2 separate regions of the Homo sapiens genome follow, and region 2 is linked to region 1. The links are contacts of gene promoters, found by promoter capture Hi-C in blood cells and fetal thymus (Javierre and others, 2016). All regions are on one chromosome and are shown on one strand. Each heading gives the region's core, a stretch centred on a gene start or on the middle of the fragment in contact. The rest is flanking DNA. Distances are from core to core; before and after follow the strand shown. Region 1 holds the start of RASGRP4 (RAS guanyl releasing protein 4). Region 2 overlaps ACTN4 (actinin alpha 4).

Region 1 (3,950 bases), core at 561-3,060:
ACGGGTCTCGAACTCCTGACCTCAAGTGATCTGCCCATCTCAGCCTCCCAAAGTGCTGGGATTACAGGCGTGAGCCACCGCGCCCGGCCAAAAAAAGGAATAAATTATAACCAAATATGATAACATGGAAGAACTGCAAAGACAAGACGTGGAGAGAAAGAACCCAGATTCAATACAGGAGTCCATTTTTATCCAGCTCAAAACAAGACAAAACTACTGCGCCAGACTTCGGGCGAGTGGGGATCTGTGGGAATTCGTGCTGGGAAGAAAGACAGGGGGCTTGTGGAGGGTGAGAATGTTCTGTGTCTGGATTTGTATGAATGTCACACAGGTTTGCTCAGTTGGTGACATTTCATCAACCTAAATACTTAATGATTCGTGATCTTTTTTGTACTTCAATTTAAAAAAAAGTGTCGAGCATGACACATTTAGGTAAAAAGAAAAAAATGCACACTCAAAAGAAAAGTCTGTTTCTAGGAGCACATGTTTATATGATGTGCTTAAACGCACAGACAGCAGTTTGGACGAAACTCGACAACGTGTCATATTGGTCACACCCTGCTTAAGAAAGGCAGGGGATGGGGAGGGGCTTCCCCAAGGCTTTACCTCCATCTCTAATGTTTTTTGATGTGTGTGTGTGTTTTTTTTTTTTGTTTTTTGTTTTTTGAGACAGGGTCTGGCTCTGCCACGCAGACTGAAGTGCAGTGGCACCATCATGGTTCACTGCAGCCTCGACCTCCTTGGGCTCAAGCAATCTTCTAGCCTCAGCCTCCTGAGTAGCTGGGACTACAAGTGTGCATCACTACGCTCAGCTAACTTTTTTTTTTTGAGACAGAGTTTCGCTCCTGTTGCCCAGGCTGGAGTGCAATGGCGCGATCTCGGCTCACGGCAACCTCCGCCTCCTGGGTTCAAGCAATTCTCCTGCCTCAGCCTGCCGAGTAGCTGGGATTACAGGCATGTGCCACAACGCCTGGCTAATTTTGTATTTTTAGTAGAGACGGGGTTTCTCCATGTTGCTCAGGCTGGTCTTAAACTCCCAACCTCAGGTGATCCGCCCACCTCGGCCTCCCAAAGTGCTGGGATTGCAGGAGTGAGCCACCACACCGGCCTAACGTTTTACATTTTTTGTAGAGACGGGGTTTTGTCACGTTGTTCAAGCTGGTCTCAAACTCTTAGACTCAAGCGATCCGCCTGCCTTGGCCTCCCAAAGTGCTGGATGACAGGCGTGAGCCCCTGTGAGCCCCCGTGCCTGGTCCGGTATGTAATTTTTTTTAAGGTAACAGTGGATTGTGTGAGGATTAAATGAGTTAATATTTTTAAAGTCCTTACAGCAGTGTGTGGTACACAGTAGGTGCTATGTGGAGGTTTGTTACAATAAAGTCAGAAAGTGAAAATGTTTTCCAGGGTACAAATGGTATCACTTAAACTAGGAATAAGAGACGCCTATGAAGAAATATACAAAATACTATGTCTTGTGAGTTTCCATTCAAACCTTCATGAATTATATATATGAATATGTCCTTCTAGACAGACAGACTTATCTTTTTGAGTGAGTGTGTGTGTTTTTACATAAATATCAGTCATGCTTTAAAAAGAAAAGCCCCTTCTTTTATTGAAGTATGACAGTGACGGGTCTCGACACCGAAAGATGGGGGAGATAGAGAGCCCGCCGGGGAGCTTGAGGGTGGGAGAGCCAGCGATGCCGGAAACCTCAGCAGAAGGGATCCCCGTGTGGGGGAGGGGGGCCTTCGGTCTCTCCCCAGCCTCTTCCTTCCCCCTGGCCTGAGGGTGGGTGGGGAGGGGCAGTTCCTCTTTCCTTCCCAAGCACCGAGGAGGCCCCAGCTCCCTAGGGGCTGAGAAGCTGGAGTCCTGGGCAAGGGGAGGAGCTGAGCCCTACTCTTGCAAGACCCCCGGCCTCCTCACCCCACGCGGGAAGCATGAACAGAAAAGACAGTAAGAGGTGAGAGGACCCTCCCCAGGGAGCCCGGCAGCACCCTGAGGCCTCCCTCTGCATGGGAGGGCTGGGGAGATCACTCGCCAGGGTGGCAGGATTCCTGACTTCTTTGGGATCAGGCGCAGGGGGGCCAGGTGGATGCTTCAGGGAGTCTGGAGCCAGCTACGGCTGCAGTCGCTTGTATGTGGCATCTGTACCGTGTTGTCCCTGGAGTTTGAGCTGCTCCGTGCCCCTTTTCCACTCCTCATCACCCCACCTCCATCCCTGGCCTGGGCTGAGTGTCTCTGCCCTCCCTGGGGGCTTCCTGGTTCCCCATCCCCGTGGACTGGAAACTCCAGGCTCCTGCAGGGCCTGGCCCAGGAGAGGGGAGTGTGGCACAGGGCAAGGCGACTCCCCTGCCTCTTAAACCACTCCTGGCTGTTCCAGACCCCTACAGGGGGCTGCAGGACAGGGCCTAGTGGCTGGCTGTGCGGCCGGTTCTGGAATGGGCTTCATCTCCTGGGCAAGCTGGCCCTTCTGTCCCCACAGAGGCAGATGGTGGGTGGCTCCCTAGCCTGGGTAACTCCTCCTGCCACCCCCAGCACCACTCTGATGGGCAAAGGGCTTTCCTCCCCACCCAGCAGTTTAGTGGTAGACTCCTGGCTGCCTAATTTCCTAGCTGTGTGACCTTAGGTAAGTCACTTAACTGCTCTGTGTCTCGGGTTTTTCTTCTGTCAGTAGAACAATCATATCCTCTACCTCGGAGAGGCCTGTAAGTACTCAATGAGACACTCTAGACCAGTGGTTCTCAAACTGGAGCGAGCCTCAGAACTGTCTGGAGGGCTTGTAAAATACAGGTTGCTGGGCTTACCTTTAAAGTGTTTGGTTTTTTTTTTTTTGTTTTTTTTTTTTGAGACGGAGTCTCGCTCTGCCGCCAGGCTGGAGTGCAGTGGCACAATCTTGGCTCACTGCAACCTCTGCCTCCCGGGTTCAAGCGATCATCCTGCCTCAGCCTCCCAAGTAGCTGGGACTACAGGTGTGCACCACCACACCCAGCTACTTTTTTGTATTTTTAGTAGAGATGGGGTTTCACCATGTTGGGCAGGATGGTCTCGATCTCTTGACCTCGTGATCCACCCACCTCGGCCTCCCAAAGTGCTGGGATTAGAGGCATGAGCCACCACCCTTAGCCTTAAAGTGTTTGATTTTGTAGGTCTGGGTTGGGACCTGAGAATCTGTATTGATATCCAGTTCCCAGGTGATGCTTTTGGTACTAGCTGGGTGCCCACACTTAGGGAAATGCTGACTTAGTTAGAATGCTCCTTCCTTAGCCTAGGACATATATAATACTTTAAAATGTCCCTTCTAGTAACGATGGCTCATGCCTCTAATCCCAGCACTTTGGGAGGATAAGACAAGGAGAACTTGAAGCCAGGAGTTCTAGACCAGCCTGAGAAATATAGTGAGACCCCCCCCCCCATTGACACACACCCAAACACACACACAAAATTAGCTGGGTATGGTCGTGCACACCTGTAGTCCCAGCTACCTGGGAGACTAAGGCAGGAGGATCACTCGAGTCCAGGAGTTCAAGGTTACAATGAGCTTTGATTGCACAACTGTGCTCCAGCCTGGGAGACAGAGCAAGACCCTGTCTGAAAAAGGGTAGAGGTGGGAGCCTGGCGTGATGGCTCACACCTGTAATCCCAGCACTTTCAGAGGCAAAGGTGGGAGGATCAGTTGGGCCCAGGAGTTTGAAACCAGCCTGGCCAACATGGTGAAACCCCATTTCTACTAAAAATACAAAAATTAGCTCGGCGTGGTGGCACGTGCCTGTAGTCCCAACTACTTGGGAGGCTGAGGCAGGAGAATTGCTTGAACCCGGGAGGTGGAGGTTGCAGTGAGCTGAGATCGCACCACTGCACTCCAGCCTGGGTGACAGAGTGAGACCCTGTCTCCAAAAAAAGAAAGAAAGAAAGAAAAAAGAAATCCCTGGAGAAGGTCCAAGGACTATCCT
Region 2 (3,950 bases), core at 1,016-3,515, 230 kb before region 1:
GTGGCGCGCGCCTGTAATCCCAGCTACTTGGGAAGCTGAGGCAGGAGAATCACTTGAACCGGGGAGGCAGAGGTTGCAGTGAGCTGAGATCGTGCTACTGCACTCCAGCCTGGGTGACAGAGTGAGACTCCATCTCAAAAAAAAAAAAAATTAAAATTAGCTGGCCATGGTGGTGCACACATAATCCCAGCTACTAGGGAGGCTGAGGCTGAAAGATCCCTTGAGCCCAAGAGTTCAAGGCTGCAGTGAGTTATGATTAGGCCACTGCACTCCAGCCTGGGTGACAGTGAAACCCTGTCTCTAAAAAATCAAAACAGAACAAAAACCAAATGTGTTCCCTTCAGACATGGAAAACACAAAGTGGGGTATACTGCCTGCCTTCTGTGCTTCCTCTGATCCACCTAGACTGTGGCTTCCACCCACTCTCAAAAGACATCAGGGAGGGGAAAAGATGAAAAGAAAAACCCACTAGAAAGCTAGTGACAGACATCACTCAGCCCCACACCTTTGGGGGGGAAACTTTAAAAAACATAAAACAAACCACAAAGTCTTCTTTATTCCTGCCTGAAGCTGAAGACACAAATGCTATTGTATTGCTGGTGTTCTAGCATCCCATTCAATCATTGCAACACCATCCACGATATTTCCCAAGATGACTTCATTGTGTTCTGCAGGGTAGTAACTGCCGCTTCCAACTACTTCTGCCCCATGTGGATAGTTCCACTGGAAGACAAAGAATCTGTTCTGCTCTGATATTTGGAAGAAAAACATTTAAATAAGCCTTGTTAACTCAGCAGGAGGGCACTGCTTTCCTTTCAAAATGTAGGGTTCAAATCCGATGAAGGGGTGGCAGTGTGCTTTCTTCGTGGGAGGGGCCCAACTCTAAGAAGAAAACTGGAGCCTTAAGAGAAAAAGTTGGCTGGGCGTGGTGACTCACACCTGTAATCCCAAGACTTTGGGAGGCTGAGACCAGACTGGGCAACACAGCAAAACCCCATCTCTACAAAAACACAAAAATCAGTCAGGCGTGGTGGTGTGCACCTCTAGTCCCAGCTACTTGGGAAGCTGAGGTGGGGGGATGGCTTGAGCCCGAGGTCAAAGCTTCAGTGAGCCAAGATTGTTCCACTGCACTCCAGCCTTGGTAAAAAGAGTGACACCCTGTCTCAAAAAAAAGGAACAAAGGCAAGAAAAACGAAGAAAGAAAAAAGTTGTGTGAGGAACAAATGATAAACCCACATTTCTTACAGCTAGCCCTCTGTATCCATGGGTTCTCTATCTGTGAATTCAACCAACAATGGATCGAAAATACTGGAAGAAAAAAAATGAATGGTTGCATCTGCACTGAACATGTACATATTTTTGTCATTATTTCCTAAACAGCACAGTGTAACAACCATTTACGTAGCATTTAGCATTAGGTTATAAGTAATCTAGAGATGATTTAAAGTATTCAGGAGGATGTGCATAGTTAAAATGCAAATTACACATCGTTTTATCTTACATAAGGAACTTGAGCATCTGTGGATTTTGGTATATAAGGGGGTTCCTGGAACCAATCCCCCACAGATACTGAGAAATGACTGTATTTTCAATGTGTCCTGGTTTCTTACAAAACCTCAAAAGCACTAACACTTGAAACTGAAGATGAATCAAGCATCATCCAGTCATGAGCCATATGTTCGAGTCTAGTATGGCCGGATGACACACAGAGCCAAGAGGGGCTGTGTGCTCCTGGACAAGGTGCTGCCCTGCCCACCTCGACCAGATGAGATCAAGTTTTTTTCCCAAGTGTGACATACACACATGGAAAATTTTAAGGGTTATCTACACCTTACATTACACCCTGAATCACATTGAGAAAGTTATTTCCTTTGATTCTCTTGTAAACCTGATGACTTCAAAGAGAAAGTCTCTGCTTGGTGCTGGTGGGTCTTTAACACCTCACCAACACTTGCCAATCCCTTTCTAACAAAGGGAGCAGGCCTCAAGCCTGGGGGGCCTTCAGCCCGAGTGGTAACCACCTGGAAACAACACTGTTTTGTTTTCAATGTGTTTATTTTTGCAGTTTCCTTCTATTATATTTATGGCCAGGGGAGCTGGGTTTTCCAGTTGCCATACTCTTGTCAGTTTTCCTTTCAAAACTTAATTTAAAATGCAAACTGATTCAAAGGAAATTATTATGTGTCTATAAAAGTGGTTATGGAAAATCACAAATGGCTGCAGTTTACGAAGGAAGGGGATAAGCACAGGGGGACTGCTCTGGCTGGGGAGCCTCACTCCTGGGGGAGGGGGAGAGAATGGAACTCATCCCAGGAAGGAAGGAGCCAGCACAACAACAGGTGGCAAACAGCAAATCCCACGTAAACTCACTCCACTCGCCTTCAGATAACACTTGCATAAATCACAACCAAGAAAAAGGCCACTGACCTCTTCCAGAGTAAACGCTGTTCAAACTAAAGGGAAGGCAGGCAAATTACACCAATCAGCTTCTAAGACTTTCCACGGACATTCCAAGTTAATGCCTCTCTTGTTTATGGAGAAAGGGGAGGGGAGGGACGTGAAAAAACACAACCAAAAAAAGGCACAACACCAAGACAAATGCCTCGGGGATTTTTATAATCCCAGGGAAACTGCTACTTGGATAAAACTTCCCATGCACTGATGTAAGGATGCTCTTGCCAGTTAAATATATGCAAAGATTTAACTCCTTTTCTTTTTCTTTTTTTTTTTTTTTTGAGACGGAGCCTTACTCTGTCGTCCAGGCTGGAGTGCAGTGGCGTGATCTCAGCTGACTGCAACCTCCACCTTCCAGGTTTGAGTGATTATCCTGCCTCAGCCTCCCCAGTAGCTGGGATTACAGGGGTGCACCACCGTGCCCGGCTAATTTTTTGCATTTTAGTAGAGATGGGGTTTCACCATGTTCGCCAGGCTGGTCTTGAAGTCCTGACCTCACGTGATCCACCTACCTCGACCTCCCAAAGTGCTGGGATTACAGGCGTGAGCCACCACACCCGGCGATTTCACTTTCTGGAGGAGGCGGGATCCTTCCCTGGGTCAGGTGGTTAATTTCTCCCCTTCATAAGATCCTTCTTTAAACAGAGGCTGGAATTTAAAATGATTCTGTTTCTCTTTGATTCATTGAAAGTTACACTCCTTGATGCCTGGGATACCGAGTAAAATGTAACTCATAGACCTTCTTGAAGAAAAGTTAAGTGATACCTGGGCCACTTTCAGACACTTTATAACAAATTCTGGCGCCTAGGCTGCCAACACTGTAAAACTAAGTTTCCTTGTAACTTGCTTTGATGTTTCCAAGTTTAAACCCATTCTAAAGAAGACTAATGAGCTCTCAAACTACCCAGTGATAGAAAGACTTCTTTCAAATCTCCACGGATGACAGTATTTGTATCTGCTCAAGTAGAAGCTTCCGTCTCTCTTGTAACAGGTCAGTGCTTCAGTTACCACTGCCATTGAATTACCCACTTGCTATCACTTGCCTCTTATTTCCATAAAAAAAGAAACGGAGGAAAAAACTGTTTAAGTTTTACCTTGTTTAAAAGTAACACGAGTGCTTTTGTTATTCTGTAAACTAAATACATAAATGAAGGCAAAGGAAGGAAACTGAGGGAAGGGAACAAAATGTGAGTGATGAAAACACGGAGTTCATTAAATGAAGGAATAAAGATAAAGCCGGGGAAAACACTGCTCTAGGATATACTAAGGCAAGGGAAGAGATAAACATGTTGATATTTCAGCTATTCAGAAAACCTGAACGAGCAAGTGATACTAGAGCAAACAGCTGTTCACTAATTATATTTGCCCTTCCCTTCTGCCCTTCAAAAAAGTAAAAGCAGCAGCAAGGGAATCTTTTTTTTTTTTTTTTAAAGAACAACCCTAAGGTCTGGTCAAAGGCTTGTACAATTCCCAGCACAACATAAATCAGTGTAGCA

Evidence for each region. The method cuts DNA at HindIII sites, captures the fragments that hold promoters and counts their contacts. A CHiCAGO score of 5 or more calls a contact.
Region 2: a contact is called between a fragment that was not itself captured here and the fragment with the promoter of RASGRP4 in region 1, in 1 of 17 cell types (neutrophils). The highest score is 5.4, in neutrophils.

What each region holds. Positions count from the first base shown.
Region 1 is chr19:38,424,079-38,428,028 of GRCh38, reverse strand. It overlaps RASGRP4 (RAS guanyl releasing protein 4), which reads left to right and starts at 1,810. Exons shown (of 17, transcript NM_170604.3): 1 at 1,810-1,960. The coding sequence starts at 1,938. RefSeq lists an enhancer at 468-982 and a silencer at 1,875-1,934. The HindIII fragment of the contact is 20,985 bases long and covers 1-3,950 here.
Region 2 is chr19:38,653,347-38,657,296 of GRCh38, reverse strand. The region is part of intron 1 of ACTN4 (actinin alpha 4); the gene reads right to left. Among named protein-coding and RNA genes, the nearest start is that of ACTN4, 7.7 kb to the right of the region's middle. RefSeq lists a silencer at 1,509-1,558 and enhancers at 1,678-2,546, 2,547-3,415. The HindIII fragment of the contact is 2,323 bases long and covers 1,104-3,426 here.